Regions from separate parts of the Homo sapiens genome. Here region 1 is linked to region 2. Evidence: promoter capture Hi-C in human tissues and cell types (Jung and others, 2019). All regions are on one chromosome and are shown on one strand. Each heading gives the region's core, a stretch centred on a gene start or on the middle of the fragment in contact. The rest is flanking DNA. Distances are from core to core; before and after follow the strand shown. Region 1 overlaps AGO2 (argonaute RISC catalytic component 2). Region 2 holds the start of PTK2 (protein tyrosine kinase 2).

The links. The method cuts DNA at HindIII sites, captures the fragments that hold promoters and counts their contacts. A contact is called where the count stands out against the background at its distance.
Region 1: a fragment that was not itself captured here is called in contact with the fragment with the promoter of PTK2 in region 2 in 1 of the 25 tissues and cell types used here (dorsolateral prefrontal cortex).

Annotation. Positions count from the first base shown.
Region 1 is chr8:140,583,058-140,587,577 of GRCh38, forward strand. It overlaps AGO2 (argonaute RISC catalytic component 2), which reads right to left. Exons shown (of 19, transcript NM_012154.5): 2 at 2,062-2,254. Among named protein-coding and RNA genes, the nearest start is that of ERICD, 49 kb to the right of the region's middle. The HindIII fragment of the contact is 7,107 bases long and covers 1-4,520 here.
Region 2 is chr8:140,999,311-141,003,952 of GRCh38, forward strand. PTK2 (protein tyrosine kinase 2) reads right to left here and starts at 1,972. Exons shown (of 36, transcript NM_001352702.2): 1 at 1,815-1,972. RefSeq lists silencers at 1,637-1,966, 1,987-2,406. The HindIII fragment of the contact is 8,254 bases long and covers 1-3,446 here.

The sequences.
Region 1 (4,520 bases), core at 1,140-3,639, 420 kb before region 2:
CTGGGGACACAGACAGAAAAAAAGGAGAGAAAGAGTGATTTCTTCTCTCCCTCCTGGGGCTGGGGCACTGTCTTCCTCCTGCCTCGGACATCAGAACTTCAGGCTCCCTTGGCCTTTGGGCTCTAGGACTTATAGCAGCAGCCCTGTGGGTTCCAGGTCTTTGGCTTCCCTGATTATAAGGCTTTCAGACTTGGCCTGAGCCCCGCTACTGACACTCCAGGGTCTCCAGCTTGTAAATGGCCTGCTGTGGGACATCTTAGCCTCTACAATCATGTGAGCCAATTCCCCTAATAAATCCCCTCTCATATCTATAGATATATGTACAGTCATGCGTGGCTTAACCATGGGGATATGGCCTGAGAAATTCACTCAGGCAATTTCATTGCAGTGTGAACATCATAGAGTATATTTACATATACCCAGGAGGTAGAGTCTACCACACACCTAGGCCACAAACCTGTACAGCACACGACTGCTGAACACGGCAGGCAATTGTAACACCATGGTAAGGATGTGTACATCTACATATACCTAGGTCGGGCCCAGTGGCTCATGCCTGTAATCCCAGCACTCTGAGAGGCTGAAGCAGGCAGATCACTTGAGGTCAGGAGTTCAAGAGTAGCCTGGCCAATATGGTGAAATCCTGTCTCTACTAAAAATACAAAAAATTAGCCAGGTGTGGTGGCAGGTGCCTGTAATCCCAGCTACTTGGGAGGATGAGGCAGGAGAATCACTTGAACCCAGGAGGTGGAGACTACAGTGAACTGAGTTCATGCCACTGGACTCCAGGGTGACAGAGCAAGACTCCATCTCAAAAGAAAAAATAAAAAAATCTAAACTCAGAAAGGGTAGCGCATTGCTCTACTACGTTACGTGGGCTATGATTTCAGCTCCCTTACAATCTTTTGGGACCACGGTGGTATATGTGTCTGTCACTGGCCAAACGTTGTCATGCGGTACATGACTGTATCTCTATCCTATTGGTTCTGTCGCTCCGGAGGATGCTTACAAATGCAATGTACATCTAGAATATACTAAAAACTCTCACGGATCAATAACAAAAAGACAAGAAACTCAGTAAAAAAAAAAAAAAAAACAAAACAGGCAAAATACTTCAACACTTTGCTGGAAATAATATATCACTTAATCGATGAAAATAATATATAAACACATGGAAAGATGCTCAGCTCATCAGGTACCAGAGAAATGAAAATTAACCACAATGAGAAACCACTACTCACCCACCGAAACACACAAAAAAACACGCCTGACCACACCGCGTGCTGGTGGGGGTGGGTGGCCTTGGAAACACTCAGCGGAGCTGACGGGAGGAAAACGTGATGGGAGCATGGGAACACCATTTATTTGGCAGGTTCACATGCAGCTAAACACACAGCTGCCCTTCGGCCCAGCAATTCTACTCCTAGGTATTTATTTAAGAGAGACGAAAACACCTCCACAAAAAGAACTTCAACAAGAACGTTCACAGCAGTCTTATTCATAATGGCCACAGCCTAGACTGCCCATGTGTTTAAAAGGAAGATGAAAAACAGACTACGAAATAGGCAATAGAGTATTTAGCAATAAAAATAAGCTACAAATACACACAACGGCGCAGGTGGGTCTCATAAATTCTGCTGAGTAAAAGCAGTCGGGATTGAGGGTGTGTCACTATACAGACCTGGAAACTAATCTATGTGACACACATCAGAATGCCGTGACTTTAGGGGCTGGGGGTAACCGGAAGAGGGTATGAGGCAACTTTCTAGGGTGATCAGTATATACATTTGTCGAAATTCTTCCAGTTGTGCATTTACGATGTATGTATTTCACTATCCTGAAACTGTGTCTCAATACAAAAACTTGGTATATATTTATATATATATTTTTTTCAATCCGTAGGTTTGACTCTGAAAAACTGTTTTTGAAAAGCAAATGCAGCTGAAACGTTCTGGAAAAAACCCAGATGGATCTGCTGAGAATTTCAGAGTTGATTAGTTTAAATGCCGTGTCTGTCCGCGCAGACCACTTACACAGGTCATGAAGGATGAAACGTAATACCTGTTAACTCTCCTCGGGCACTTCTCTGGCTTGATATCCAATTCATAATGATAGATGTCAATTTTGGGGATGTCCATTTCGAAGAAATTGGCCTGTAATTTGATTGTTCTCCCGGAGGTCCCAAAGTCGGGTCTAGGTGGAGGCTTGAAGGCATATCCTTGGATGGGGGGCGGCGGCGCAGGAGGTGCAAGTGCTGGAATGGCAGAGAGAACACCCATTAACGGGGGAGCAGGCTTGCTCTGCGGCCCTTCCCATCCCGCGGCCCCAAGCCACTATATGCCCCCCTCTGCTGTTTCCATTCACGTCCAGGCCAATATTGCATTCCACAGAGGAGGCGTCTCAACGTCAAGCCAATAATGTACTTAAAATGTATCATAACAACTCATTGGTGATCAAACTTGCTATGTCCATTCCTGTTCTTTCTTCCTGTCTCAGACACTGGAGAGATGAGGCAGCATGAATTACTAGCACGGGAGACAAGGCAAAGAGCCCAAAAGTGTCAAGGCGGTGCCCCTCCCTTGCTGCTGCTTAAACCGCTCGTTTACTCAGGAAGCGCTTTTTACTATGCATAAGCGGCAGAAACTTCATCCCAACTCAAGTTTTCAGTGGCTCCATATTAGTAAAGTTCAAAATGTAGATTTAGAAAAATAAACATTTTTCAATAATAGAACGCTTTCAATTTTCACTCAAATGTCTGTTTAAAAAAAAGACAACCCTTCTCCATTTAAAAAAAATCACATGTACTTCAATCCCTATTGACATTCACTGGAAAGAAAAAGAACTCTACTAAAAATAATATGAGCTGTTCTTACTGTATTTCTGACCTAGAAAAACTCAGAGACTCCTTGAATTATTTGCTTTTTTGTTTGTTTGTTTCCTATGAGAAAACTAACATGCTTTCAAGGTTATTAAACTCACTGAGTTACACCATTTGGAAATGGTTATGGCAGCATGGCCTTCCACCAAGTCGCCATGACTTCATAGATGACACATCTACAGACTTCCATGACACTCCACCCTTCAATGGCACTCAGCGGGTGCCCCTGTGGGCTGGGCACCATGCCCTGGGCCAAGGCTACAAAAATAAAGTCAGGCTGGGTGCAGTGGCTCACACCTATAATCCCAGCACTTTGGGAGGCTGAGGCGGGTAGATTACCTGAGGTCAGGAGTTTGAGACCAGCCTGGCCAACATGGTGAAACCCTATCTCTACTAAAAATACAAAAATTATCTGGATGTGGTGGCACGTGCCTGTAGTCCCAGCTACTCAGGAGGCTGAGGCAGGAGAACCGCTTGAACGCGGAGGTTGCAGTGAGCCGAGATCATGCCACTGCACTCCAGCCTGGGTGACAGAGCGAGACTCCATCTCTAAATAAATAAACAAAACAAACAAACAAACTGAGTCCTCAAGCAGCACCCATGCTGCCACCAGGGACAGTTTCCAGGTGTCAGTCATCCACAGGATGACGTCTGATGACTTTTCATAAGCTCAGCAGCTCACCAAGATCCTTCCCAGCAAGGACCCTGACCGTGACAGGGAGTGGACATCACAGTCCAGGTGGGTTCAGTGGAGACAGCCACTCCCCTGAGGACCGACTGAGCTTCTCTCTACGCCACACCGGAGTAGAACAAAGCACTTGCCAACACGTGGCCCTGTTCTCAGGTGGCTCCAACCACCCAGTGAGACGGCTCCCAGGAAACGTCTAGGACAGAGCCCGGGAATCTGGCCCTGTGGCCAATCTCGATTTCAGGGTCGGGCACGCTCCTCTCGGGGAGGAGAGTCACTGTCCTTCGGTGACTCCCAGCTTACAAGGTGCTCATGCAGTTACTTAACCGAGCCTCACAACCATACCACAAAGGGGCACACCGCTGGCTGCAAGAAGGTTTTGGGCTGGAACACGAGCTACTTGCAGGTGAAGCAAAGCTGCTGGGCCGGCTCCAAACCAGGCCCCTCCACCGGGCCCCCAAGCAGAGTCCAGGCACAGACGCAGCTCGAGCCCAGGGCTCAGGCTGACCCTATTTCTCCTAAGAAGCCTTCCCCGAGACTACCTCCTCTGCAACACCTGGCATGGGAGGCGGGAAACCTGCACGCAGCCTGGTACTAACCCCTGTGAATAAAGGCAATGGGAAAACACAGCGGTAATTCATAAAACATGCAATTTCCTAAGATAGTTCTTTCTTGCTTCTAGCTTTCAATAATGAAAATACTGATACTTCACGTGAAGGCACGTGGAATATAAAATTACAAGTTAAAGATGTAAAAGTTTTCCAGGCAGAGGGGCCAGGGAAGGTCCACCTTCCCGTACCTTCAGGAAGGCAACTCCACTGCCAAGGACGCCTCTGCAGGCCTTAGACCTTGGGGTGCCTGAAATCCACTCTGATCACTCACAGGGAGTCCCACGTGTAAGCTGCAGATACAAGCTGGAGGATCAAAGCCAAAGCGTGCAAGAGGAGACAGAGC
Region 2 (4,642 bases), core at 722-3,221:
TGTGCCTGTGTTCATTATTAAACTAGATTATTTGATAGTGACCTGAAATTCTTTAAAGGAAAACCTTGTAATATTGATCTTGTTGTTTCTGCAGTTTAATAAACAAGAAGGTTCAAAATGATGGTAGGTTCAGCCTGTTTTTCCCCACCAAGGATAACCACAAATACAAAACACAAAGATATTGGGACACAAACATCCTTAAAATGTTCCTTGTTTGAATATCATAGGGCTTTTCTAATTAATTGGCTAGTATAACTGGATGAAAATATTATCTATACTGTACCCCAACAAAAATACGTTGAATGCTAGTTTACTTTTATGTGTCTTGTAACTAGTTCATCCGTGTGCTTGCATCGCACTGCTCATAAGTTTTCAAATATGGGACGGAGTGCTCAACTCTCGAAGACATCATTTTCATTACCCGTTTCCCAAATAAAATATTAAGGTTGAGGCTCTGGTATTTCATTTCAAATAGTACTGGTCTGTTTTTCCAGCCATGAAAACGTTTACATTCTAAGTAAAAATCCTAGCGATGGTTAAGTCTTAAATACAAATCCCCAAACTCTTGCACTGCCTTCAGCTTTCAGCTTGAATGTATAACCAGTTCCCATAATTACTACAATATTACTATTATCTTAGTCTCATTGCCAAAAACCCAGCTGCAGGCTAACTATGCAAGAATGAGACACTGTTGAAATGACTCGGAAAAAAAAAAAAAAAGAAACTTTACCCTCACTGAATTTAGCTACAAAATTCTGCAATTAAATGAAACCAATTCACACACACACACACACACACACACACACACACACACACCCCTTCTTCTAAGAAAGAACAGGATGCCGCTACACAAGGAACCCAGAGAGAAATTCGGCAAACAGTTGCGCCTAAGCCACCGCGGCAGAGTCGGGGGCTGGGGGCGGGGAAGAGGAGAAAACTTGGGAAGCACAATGACTCCAGTGAGGACTTCAGTGAGGGCTCCAGGGCTCCCGCCAAGAAGCCCACGGGGCTCTACCAAACTTGAGGGTTTGCGTTCGGGGACACGGCGGGCTTGGGGCTCGGGCACCGGCAGGCCGCTCGGAGCCCACCCTTGGCTGCCCGCGAGGCCGCGCCCGGGGGACGGAGGTCGGGCCGTCGCGAGCCTCCCTCTCGCGTCCGGGCGAACCCTGCCGACGTCCCTGCGATTTCCCTCTTCCTCCTCCTGCCTCTCCCCTTTTGTTTTTCAGGCATTGGGTCCGCTCCGGCGGAGGCCGGCCCGTCCTCCCCGCGCCTCTGTCCGCCCTGCGCGCCCCCAGAGCCCCGGCCTCCTCGTCTTCCTCAGGCCCCTCGGCCTCTCCGCGCGCCCGGCCTTTTCGAAAGCCGCCCCCCCCTTCCTCCTCACGTCTCCCGGACTCCCCACGTCCCCCAGCCTTTCTGTCTTCCCCGAACCCCTTGGCCTCCCCGCGCGCCCCCAAAACCCCCGACCTCCTCGAGCTCCCGGCCTCCCCACGTCCCTCAGCCTCCCAGTCTTCCCCAAGCCTCCCGACCACCCAGCGCCCCGAACCCCCGCCTCCCAGCGCGCCCCCTGACCTCCTTAAGCCTCTCGGCCTCCGCGAGGGCCCCCAACCTCCTCACGGCCACCGGCCTCCCCTCCTCCCAGAACCCGGGCCGGGGGCGCGGGAGGGGCCGGTCTCCGCCGCATCCGCCCCGGGACTGGTTGGGCGGCCCCGCTCTGCCCCTCCGCCCTCAGGGCCGCGGCCCAGCCCACGACCGCTGCACAGAAGGAGCCCGCCCAGCCCCCGACCCGCGCCCCGCGCCCGGCGCCCCGCACTCACTCGGACCGCGGCTCGGCGCCGTGAAGCGAAGGCAGACGACGACGGGGCGGCGCTGGGCGACAGCAGCCGCGCTTCCTCCCACGCCTCACGCCGCGGGCTCACAGTGGTCCGGGACCGGCGGCGGCGGCGGCGGCGCGGGCTCGCGCCCTCGAGGCCGTGCTGCGTCGGCGCGGGCCCGCGCGCGTGCGCGGCAGCCGGCTGAGGCGCGCGTCCTCTCTCGGCAGCGCACGCCCGACCCGGTCTCAGTCCGGAGTTCCCGCCTCTCGGGGGGACTGGGCATGCGCGCCGCCCCCGCGCATGCCCAGCGCGCCGCTAGGCTCTGCTCGCGTAATTTGTCCTGTAGTGACCGCGCCGGGGTTTCGGGGTGGCCCGAGGCTGCGCGCGGGCGTGGCGGCCGGACGAGGAAAGCCCTGGTCTCGGGGGTGGCCGGGGTCGCCCCGCCGAGCGGACATCCTGGGGTCCCACCTGCCTCGCTCTCCGCCAGCGGGATTAGACGGACTTCGGGAAAGTCCTCCCCATCTCCTTCCCTGCCCCCAAATCCCGAAGGGGTCCCCTCTGGAGAACCTCCCTCCTGAGCGGCCCTGCGGCCCCGCCCCCAGAGTTGGACGCCCGCTGTCGGGCACCCGCTGCGGGCCCCGGGCCTTGCAGTGCACTCTCCAGGCACCACACCGACCCTAACGAGCGGTTCCTGGGCCCTTTTTGCAGACAAGGAAACTGAGGCTCAGAGATTCTTTTCATGGCATTATAGCTAAGTTGGGCTGGGCCATTATTTGATTTTGGAAGATGAAAAATCATGAAAGGGACTTAGAAGTCCACTGGAGGTAGACAGGTTACCTAAATGAACGCCAGCAGGGAACGAGCCCTGCAATCCCTCCCGAGGGCTACAGACCTGAGACGGGCTCCAGGAAAAGGAGGGAAGGCTCGCCCCGACACCGACCCGGGCTTCCGCGGTGTGAGCCAGTTTCAGCGAGGAGCTAGTTGGTTATGACCGGAACGTGCCGTAGGTGGGGTGGGGGAAATAGCAAAAGGCGAGGTTGGAGGGATTGAAAAATGCAGACGGCTGCGTGGGGCTTGCTTAGGTGCCTGGAGTTTATTCTTTAGGCAACAGGGAACCTTTGGAGGGCTTTAAGCAGGAAGTGATAACTGATTTGTGTTATTTAAAAAAAAAAAAAAGTCACTCTGGCAACCTTGTGGTCGGAAATGAAACCAGAAGAACCCTCAAGGCTGCAACTTTCATTTTTATGGTGTCATTTTGATGCTAACCACAAGCCAGGAAGCAGGACAGACAGGCACCGAGGCCTTTTGAAAGGTGAACACCCTGAAGCCCAGAGAGGTGACACACGTCATTGCATTAGGAGCTTTTATAAAAGTAAAAATGAAGTAAAATAAAAAGCTTTTGCTTATCAAGATTTTACCATATTTAAATGTTTGGGTTGTATTGTTCTTTAATGAGATGTATTAAGGTTGGTGTTTTTCTGGGTTTTGTTACTTTTTACTACATATGAAATTGTAAGGAATTGCCTCTCCATGCCAGCCTCAGGCCTTTGCGCGTGCTATTTGCTCTGCCTGGAACTTCTTGCTCCTCACTTCGTTCAATACCCTGCTTATATATCACCTCATTGATACAGCCGACCACTTCATATAATAGGAACCACCCACTGCCCTGCTATCCTCACACACAGTCCGCACTTAGTCTGCTCTGTTGTTCTCCAAAGCACCTATTGTTCACCATAGCCCAACACTGTGTTCTTGTTTATTTCTTGATTGTCCGCTCTCTCCACTAGAATCTTAGATTCATTAGAGCACGGGCTTTGTTTTGTTCACTAATAGGTCCTGGCACACAGTAAGTATTTGTCAAGTGAATGAACGAAGCTTTGGGTGATGTGAAGTGAGAGCTTATTATTAAAAGGATAAGAAAAGCATGGGAATTAAAAGAGGAGAGTGGAGGCACAAAGGGACTGCATTAAGGATAACTTTGGGGGAAGGGGCTGCACTTAGCATAGTAGACTAAAAATGGCCATCAATTCTTTGACACTTTTCCCAAGAAGAGGTGGAATTTATTCACCCCTTGAATGTGGATGGGATCTTGTAACTTGCTTTGACCAATGGGATGTGTCACAAGTGACATTGTACAAATTCCAAGCCTAGGCCTCAAGAGGCCATGCTGCTTTCATTTTCCCCCCTTAAGCCCAAGCTAGCCTCACGAGGAGGCCGTGTGGAAGAGAACTGAGGCACCCTGGCCAACAAGGTGCCACCTCCAGACATGTGAGTGAGCTGTACTAGACCACCCAGCCCCTGTGAAGCATACATAAGACCTGGAGAGACTGATGGAAGAACTGCCCAGCTGAATCCAACCCAAATTGCCAAACCACAGAATTGTGAGCCAATAAAATACATGTGGTTTTAAGCCTTTAGGTTTTAGGGTAGTGTGTTACACAATATTGTTTCCTGGACTCTGCCACGATACATTTGAAATTGACGTTCTTGAAGGGCAGCTTTGGTTATTATTATGCTTAGTAAAAGAAGAAATCAGAAAACGGCGGGAAGAAGTGATGCAAAGGAGAAGGGCAAACAGAGATACAAACGGGAAAAGGGACAAACCTAGGAAACAGTGGCTTGTCTTACCTCTTGGGCACACTTTGTGGTGCCTGAGAACTCAGGTTTAGGAGTAAGATGAACATTGGCACAGACCCAGGCTTAAGTTTAACCATTCACCAATAAACCTGTGAAGGTTGTATAATGTCTCTGAGCCTCAATTTCTCATCTGTGAAATGGAGGCTCTAAAGGATGTACATTAGAATTAGGCTGTAGAGAGGCCGGGCACGGTG